Regions from separate parts of the Homo sapiens genome. Here region 2 is linked to region 1. The links are contacts of gene promoters, found by promoter capture Hi-C in human tissues and cell types (Jung and others, 2019). All regions are on one chromosome and are shown on one strand. Each heading gives the region's core, a stretch centred on a gene start or on the middle of the fragment in contact. The rest is flanking DNA. Distances are from core to core; before and after follow the strand shown.

What was found. Contacts are between HindIII fragments. The study calls those that stand out against the background at their distance.
Region 2: a contact is called between a fragment that was not itself captured here and the fragment with the promoter of SAG in region 1, in 3 of the 25 tissues and cell types used here (adrenal gland, mesenchymal stem cells and pancreas).

What each region holds. Positions count from the first base shown.
Region 1 is chr2:233,305,890-233,309,843 of GRCh38, reverse strand. SAG (S-antigen visual arrestin) reads right to left here and starts at 2,028. Exons shown (of 16, transcript NM_000541.5): 1 at 1,822-2,028; 2 at 580-682. The coding sequence starts at 654. The HindIII fragment of the contact is 6,559 bases long and covers 536-3,954 here.
Region 2 is chr2:233,343,902-233,347,935 of GRCh38, reverse strand. It overlaps SAG (S-antigen visual arrestin), which reads right to left. Exons shown (of 16, transcript NM_000541.5): 15 at 1,524-1,533; 16 at 881-1,129. The coding sequence ends at 1,024. Among named protein-coding and RNA genes, the nearest start is that of DGKD, 8.6 kb to the left of the region's middle. The HindIII fragment of the contact is 4,969 bases long and covers 1-3,875 here.

The DNA.
Region 1 (3,954 bases), core at 779-3,278:
GTGGGGGTGACAGTGTGGGGATTGAGGGATTCGGAGAAAACTGAGGGACACAGGACTAAAGTCTTGATGAGACTGAAGAGAAGCTCTATTTCTGCAGTTCATTCACTCATTTATAGCTCAGTGATCATCCATCTTAGACAGAGACAAAAATAGACACAAAGCTTCCCTGGCCCTCACAGTGTTTGTTTGTTTTTTATTTGAGACAGAGTCTCCCTCTGCTACCCAGGCTAGAGTGCAGTGGCACCATCTGGGCTCACTGCAACCTGTACCTCCTGGGTTCAAGTGATTCTTGTGCCTCAGCCTCCCAAGTCTGGGATTACAGGTGCCTGCCACCATACCCAGCTAATTTTTGTATTTTTAGTAGAGATGGGTTTTGCCATGTTGGCCAGGCTGGTCTCGAACTCCTGGCCTCAAGTTATCCCGCCTCCGCCTCCCAAAGTGCTGGGATTACAGGCATGAGCCACCGCGCCCTGGCCCTCAAAGAGTTTTGATGTTGATCATGACTACACTGTACTTGAAAAAGCTCCATTTTTTTTAAACAATAATTTCTATCAAATCACTCACTTGTGCACCACTCACCGATTTGTCCCGGGAGATCTTCTTGAAGATAACATGGTTCGGTTCGGACTTGCTGGTCTTCCCGCTGGCTGCCATGTTATCTGTCCCTGGCAACTTCTACCACCTTGGGGTGTTGGTCAGGTGTTAGAGGGTTGGAGAAAGGTAAGACAATCCTAAATATCAAGTCAAGAACATCCTAGTTATGAAACCTACTCACGAGATCCTGTGCGTCCTCACCATGCCCTTGTACCGGCTTCAACATCCGAGTTTCATCGGTGAGTCTTTGCTTAGTTTGTATTTTACTGCAGCATGCTTTGGGGTGTTTTCAATATTTTATTTTTCTTGGTAAGCTTCAAACATTTCTCAGTACACCTTGCCAGGGAGTCTAGCTAGATTCCAATGAGGTTTTACTTTCTGACTAACCTTTGGTGTTATCACACTTAGCCAGGTTGAATTTAAAGTTCTATCGTGACTGTGTCTAATGGCGAATAAATCAGAAAAGTTCCTGAAAACCACAACATAACCACTTCGCAAAGACTGTTTTCAAGAAGATATTAATGGCCGGGCACTGTGGCTCACACCTGTCATCTCAACATTCTGGGAGGCTGAAGCGAGAGGATCATTTGAAACCAGGAGTTGGAGACTGGCCTGGGCAACATAGCAAGATCCTATCACTTTTTTTAAAAAAAAAGAATATATTAAAATCCCAAAAGTTCTATTTGGCAATTCCTACTAAGAGATAGCCACTCTGTTTTACAATTAAGAGGCCATCTTAGCGGTCTAGAATTAAGCATACTCTGAGGTTTTTTTTTTTTTTAAGATATAGGAGCTCGTTCTGTTGCCCAGGCTGGAGGGCAGTGCCACAATCATAGCTCACCGCAGCCTCGAACTCCTGGGCTCGTGATCCTCCTGCCTCAGCCAGCTGAGTAGCCAGGACTACAGGTGTGTGACACCATGCCTAGCTAATTTATTTTTATTTTTGTTTTTTTGTAGAGACTGGGTCTGACTGTATTGCTCAAGTTGGTCTCGAATTCCTGGCTTCAAGTGATCCTCCAGCCTCAGCCTCCTGAGTCACTGGGACTATAGGCATGAGCCATTGCACCCGCTCACTCCAAGTCTCCTTAAATAGCAACCAAGTCTTATGGAAACCACACAGAAAAGGTGAAGGCGGGACATACTGTCTGCAGGAAAACGCCCATCCTTGCTCTTCCCCACACCTGCCCCAGGTTTCTGATAAGGTTTTGGCCTGTGGTGGTCACATACCTTGTGATTTGTCACCAACCAGGTGGGAAGGGCCGGGTGGCAAGGAGAGGGTCTCTATGCTCTGAGATGATGAATAGCCAGCCCCTGTTCTGAGCAAGCTGGTACCGTCTTGCCAGATGAGCCTGAAGGGGCACCGCTGAGGCTCCTGGCCTACGTATGTGGGGAATTTGTAGGGGATCTAGCGAGGATGCCCAGCATCCAGGTCTCAATGTCTAAAAGCCAAATCCCACTTAAGGAGCAGAGTTGGATTAGTGCTGAGACAGTGAACTGGTAGTTTCAGCAGTTCTAAGCATTAAGCAACACCCCCCGCCCCGGTCTCCATACGGAGGGTCTCACAGATGTATGAGTCACCCAGCTGACTTGGGGAAGGTTGGTGGGAGGGCCAACAGCTAAATGAAAGCTACTTTTTCTTCTAAACCTCTTTGGATTCTGGAAATAGACTGATTATCTCTTCATTCCCGGGCATTGCCAGGACAGGAAGAGATTTGATTAAACTCAGCAGGCAGCTAATGCGACCTTGCGGGTGGGGACTAAACAAAAAGGTCAAGGAGAAATGTCAACCTCAAGATGAACCTGGTGTTATGCAAGCCAAGCTGGATCTGTCCCTCTCCTCCACCCGGTCCTACTGATTGATGGCTTCAGGAGTCCTGTTGATCCCCTCAGTGTCTCTGGAACCTGTCTGCATCCTCCCATCCCCAGCACCGCCTTTGCTTCTCAGGACCGGAGTGATTCCCCACTGTCTGACTACATCTATTTCTTTTCTTTTTTTTGTTTTGTTTTTTGTTTTGAGATGGAGTCTTGCTCTGTCTCCCAGGCTGAAGTGCAGTGGTGCAGTCTCAGCTTGCTGAAACTTCTGCCTCCCAGGCTGAAGTGCAGTGGTGCAGTCTCAGCTTGCTGAAACTTCTGCCTCCCAGGTTCAAGTGATTCTCTTGCCTCAGCCTCCAGAGTAGCTGGGACTACAGGCGCCTACCACCACACTGAGCTAATTTTGTATTTTTAGTAGAGACAGGGTTTTACTATGTTGGCCAGGCTGGTCTCGAACTCCTGACCTCAGGTGATCCACCTGCCTCGGCCTCCCAAAGTGCTGGGATTCCAGGAATGAGTCACCGCACCCAGCCGACCACATTTATTTCTACCCTCCAAGCCCTTTTCCACACAGAGGCAGAGAGACCTTCTGAGCCCTGTCATCCCTCGCTTACAATCACCCATTGCTCTTAGAATGCAGGCAAAAAGCTTGCAGCCTCTGGAACCTCTGCCTGCCTTTCCTTCCACGCCGTCTGCCACGCTTCCTCCTTCCCACTATTATTTCTGCCTGGAACAAGCCTCTCCTCTCTCCACTTTGTTGACTCTTCTTGGCCTTTCAGATTTTTGACCAGGAGTCACTTCCTCAGGGGAGCTATCCCCAACCTCCAGGACCAGATTGGAGGCACGCTTGCATTTCACTCTTTTTTTTTTTTGCTTTCGAGATAGAGTCTCACTCTGTTGCCTGGGCTGGAGTGCAGTGGCGCGATCTCGGCTCACTGCAGCCTCCACCTCCTGGGTGCAAGCGATTCTCCTGTCTCAGCCTCCCGAGTAGCTGGGATTACAGTTGTGCACCAGCATGCCCAGCTAATTTTTGTATTTTTAATAGAGATGGGGTTTCGTCATGTTGGCCAGGTTGGTGTCAAACTCCTGGCCTCCTGAAGTGCTGGGATTATAGGCATGAGCTACCGTGCCTGGCCACATTTCACTCTTGCTTGGGAATTATTCTACAGTCTCTCTTCCCTCACTGGAGTCCAGGCTCCATGAGGGCAGGGCCTAGGCCATTTTGTTTCCTTCACTTTTGTCTTCACAGTGCCCAGAACAATGCCTGCTCCCAAGAACACTCAGGGAATGGATGGAGGGGACTCTGCGACCACTAACACACTTACATGGGGGACTGACTTGGGAATGAAACAAGTATATGCAGAAAGCCTGTTCTGACGTTTGGGGTATCAGCATCCACCCAAACATTCCAATGGCTTCCCATTTAAGTCTGGACAATGCTTGCCAGGTCCGGCATGCTCTGGCCCCCCTTTACCTCTGACTTTATTTCTCACCACCCTCTCCCTTGCCCACTTCACTCCAGAGTACTGAGCCTGTTTTCTTTTCTTT
Region 2 (4,034 bases), core at 142-2,641, 39 kb before region 1:
CCTGCTTACCCCAGGTGTGGCAGCTCAGGTTTGTCCTTCAGTTCTCTGATCACACCGGGGTCCTCCCACTACATTCCTTCTCCCCACCTTAATTTAACCAAATCTGATTTTGCTTCTTGCATTGAATAGAACTTTACCAACAACCCAAAGCTCAAACAGACACCTGGACCCAAAAGTTGAATCATTAACCAAGAGTATTTTTGTCCACAGATGTTCTCTGCCCTATTTAACTTAGGAGGCTCTTTAGGGGCCTGGAAGTTGGGACTGGTCAGGTAATTAGAAACATACACTGGTGGCCAGGCGCAGTGGCTCACGCCTGTAATCCCAGCACTTTGGGAGGCTAAGGTGGGTGGATCACCTGAGGTCAGCAGTTTGAGACCAGCCTGGCTAACATGGTGAAACCCTGTCTCTAATAAAAATACAAAAAATTAGGCGGGCATGGTGGCACACGCCTGTAATCCCAGCTACTCAGGAGGCCGAGGCAGGAGAATGGCGTGAACCCGGGAGGCGGAGCTTGCAGTGAGCTGAGATCACGCCACAGCACTCCAGCCTGGGCAACAAGAGCGAAACGAAGGAAGGAAGGGAGGGAGGGAGGAATAAAGGAAGGAAGGAAGGAAGGACAGACGGACAGACGGGAAGGCACTGTTTCCAGAGAAACAGCTCAGACTGGGACTCCTAGGAAAGCCCCTGGACACACCGAGGGCCCCACCTGGTGAGCACATTGATTTCCAGACGCCTTCTCTCCCTCATGGGAGTGGTGAGCCCTTCCGTGGGAGGCTGGCCTCCCTCTCCCCAACCCTCCCACTCCAGGGACCCTAATGGTGGCAGCTTGTGTCATGTCATCAACTCAGCCTCCCCAACAAATCAACCAACTCATGACCCAGGGGAGAACAAACAAGCTTTATTTCTCGGAAGAAGACTCATCCTTTCATACGCAGCATAACTCCAAAGGACTAAACTGTGGGGCTTTGCTCGTTGCACTGGTAACTACAGGTCATTTTCCGGCATCCTGAGCCGACATCTTCACTCATCAACGTCATTCTTGTCTCTCTTCCCCTCCTCAGCTTCTCCTGCATCTTTCAGATTATGGCGAGCAAACTCCTCAAAAACTAAATTTGCATCCTGATAACTAAAATAAAACAAACAACATTTTGATCATTGCACGCCCTTTGAAGCTGAAACTGAAACAAGATCCTTGATCTTTTTGCAACGAAGGAACTGATCAAGGTTTTCCCCATGATAGAACATGGGGGCACGCCATTTTCCTCAAGGCTTCGTTTAAAATTCCTTTAACTAGCACCAATGGGAGAAAACAAAGGCACGCGCAGAGTGAGCAAGCACACCCAGTGTAATGGTGCGTGCGTGCCGTAAGCACTAGGGAGCAGACGGGAAGTAGCGGATGTGCCTCCTGAGCCGGCAGGAGAGCTTGGGATATGTGCAAAGACTCAAAGAGGGTTTTGTGCTGGAGGAGAAGGTCCCAGAGCATAGGACAAATCAGGGCCACATTCAAGAGGCTCACTCACCTTTCCTTAGCTGTAAGCATGGAATAAAAGGGAGGCAGGGAAGAGGGAGAGAGAGACATTTGTTAGTCTAAATTCTATATCATAGCTGTACCTAGAAAATGTCTACCTTTTAGGTGACTTTACAATTTGAGAGATAAGGCCTAGATACATGCAGTTCATGATCACTGCGTGTAATTCCTGCCTCCCTGCCTTTCCCACTGGAACAGCTTTTCTCCTTGCATTTTATTTATTTTATATTTTATTTTATTATTTTATTTTATTTGAGACTGTCTCTCTCTGTCACCCAGGCTGGAATGCAGTGCCACAATCTCTGCTCACTGCAACCTTTGCCTCCTGGTTTCAAGAGTTTCTCGTGTCTCAGGCTCCCAAGTAGCTGGGATTACAGGCATGCGCCATTATGCCTGGCTAATTTTTGTATCTGTAGTAGAGAAGGGGTTTCAACTATGTTGGCCAGGCTGGTCTCAAACTCCTGACCTCAAGTGATCTGCCAGCCTCAGCCTCCCAAGTGCTGGGATTACAGGCGTGAGCCACTGCGCCCGGCCTCTCCTTGCATTTTAAATCACTGCTTCCTTTACAATGTGCCACAGCCTTCACCTCCTCACATGAAACCCCCCCAGTCTCAACTCTAGGATGCTTTCCCTGATCAGCCTTGCCCCCTCTGATGTCGCTTCTCCTTTCTTATTTATTTATTTGAGATGGCATCTTGCTCTGTTGCCCAGGCTGGAGTGAAGTGGCACAATCTCGGCTCACTGCAACCTCCGTCTCCCAGGTTCAAGTGATTCTCCTGGCTTAACCTCCCAAGTAGCTGGGATTACAGGCACCCACCACCATGCCTGGCTAATTTTTGTATTTTTAGTAGAGACGGGGTGTCACCGTGTTGGCCAGGCTGGTCTCGAACTCCTGACCTCAAGTGTTCCGCCCGCCTTGGCCTCCCTGCCCAGCCAGTTGCTTCGCCTTTCAAAGTATTTCTCCTTCCATGTCCTCGGGACCCCATTGAGGTCAGGGTCGCCAGGGTGCCGTGAGCATGTGCACCCTGGCACCTCCATCTGTCAGGCTTCAGAGGCCTGAGACCTGGGACTTGACGTTCACCAGCACCCCAGGGTTAGAGTGTGCATTAAAGCTTGAGGACCAACCCCCAGCCGCAAAGTTTTCAATTTCTGTTAACATATTGATTTTGTTGTTGTTGAGTTATGTTTTCACATGTGTTGTATCCCCAGACTAACTGCTATTAATTTGAATGGTTTTTGTACTTTTTTAGCTTTCTGCCCACCTAGTTTTGGGGAGCACAGCGGCGATTTGATGGTGAGCCCCTACTCTCGCCTCTGGTGCCCACCTGGAAGCCAGCACTGGGAGGGAGTGTCTATGAGGGTCGCTACGTACAGGGGCCCTAGAGAGGCTAGCTTGTCAAAACATCCCCTGAGCAAGAAATACCCTGCGGCCCACAGTGCTCAGCGAAGAAATTACACTAAGCGGGACCATCAGCCTTGCAGAGGTAGACAACAAGGAAGAATCAAATCAGCATCTTCGGATTCAGTAAAGATGCCCTTGACAGGGGACAATAAAAACTTGGTAGCATGTCACAGCACTTATTACACACAAATTACTTGGTCCCCAGGCTCCAGCAGGGCTTAACTACATATAGCTTATGCTTTCTCTGCTTAGAATCCTACCAGCCTAGACTCAGGGAGCCGAGAACTAGGCAGAGAAGACAGGAGAGATGACATTTATCTCTAGAAATCTCATCTATCTCATATCTATCTCATATCTCTAGAAATCAGAATTTTGTAACCATGGGGTGATTTGTCTTAACCTTTGCTCCCAGAAATCTCACAGTACAAAAGATCATTGTTTCATCCTGACATTGTGATATGTTCACTGTTAAGGCCATAATGACTGGAACGTGAAAGTTGTATATGGAAAAGAATTTAAAAAAATTAAGTCAGGCCGGGCACGGTGGCTCACGCCTGTAATCCCAGCACTTTGGAGGGCTGAGGCGGGCAGATCACCTGAGGCCAGGAGTTTGAGACCAGCCTGGCCAACATGGTGAAAACCCATCTCTACTAAAAATACAAAAATTAGCCAGGCGTGCTGGCGCGTGCCAGTAATCCCAGCTACTTGGGAGGTTGAGACAGGAGAATCACTTGAACTCGGGAGGCGGAGGTTGCAGTGAACCGAGATCATGCCACTGCACTCCAGCCTGGGTGACAGAATAAGACTATGTCTCAAAAAAAAAAAATTAAGGCATAAAGTCTACTCAAAGTTCCAGAAAACAACCCAACATAAACTATGACATCTCCTCAAGTGACTATCTTTTTAATGTCCTTGAAAGGAACCAGAAAGCATCTTAATCCCACACCATGAAAAAGTAACATTTTAATGACACAAGCATAAATGAACTGAAAACATATAGCTGGACTACATTTTTCTCCAAGGGACAGTTTTGGAAAAGTTCATTGAGGATCTGAATCCAAAGTATTTGGAAGAGCTATTTTGAAACAAAGTACTGTTGAG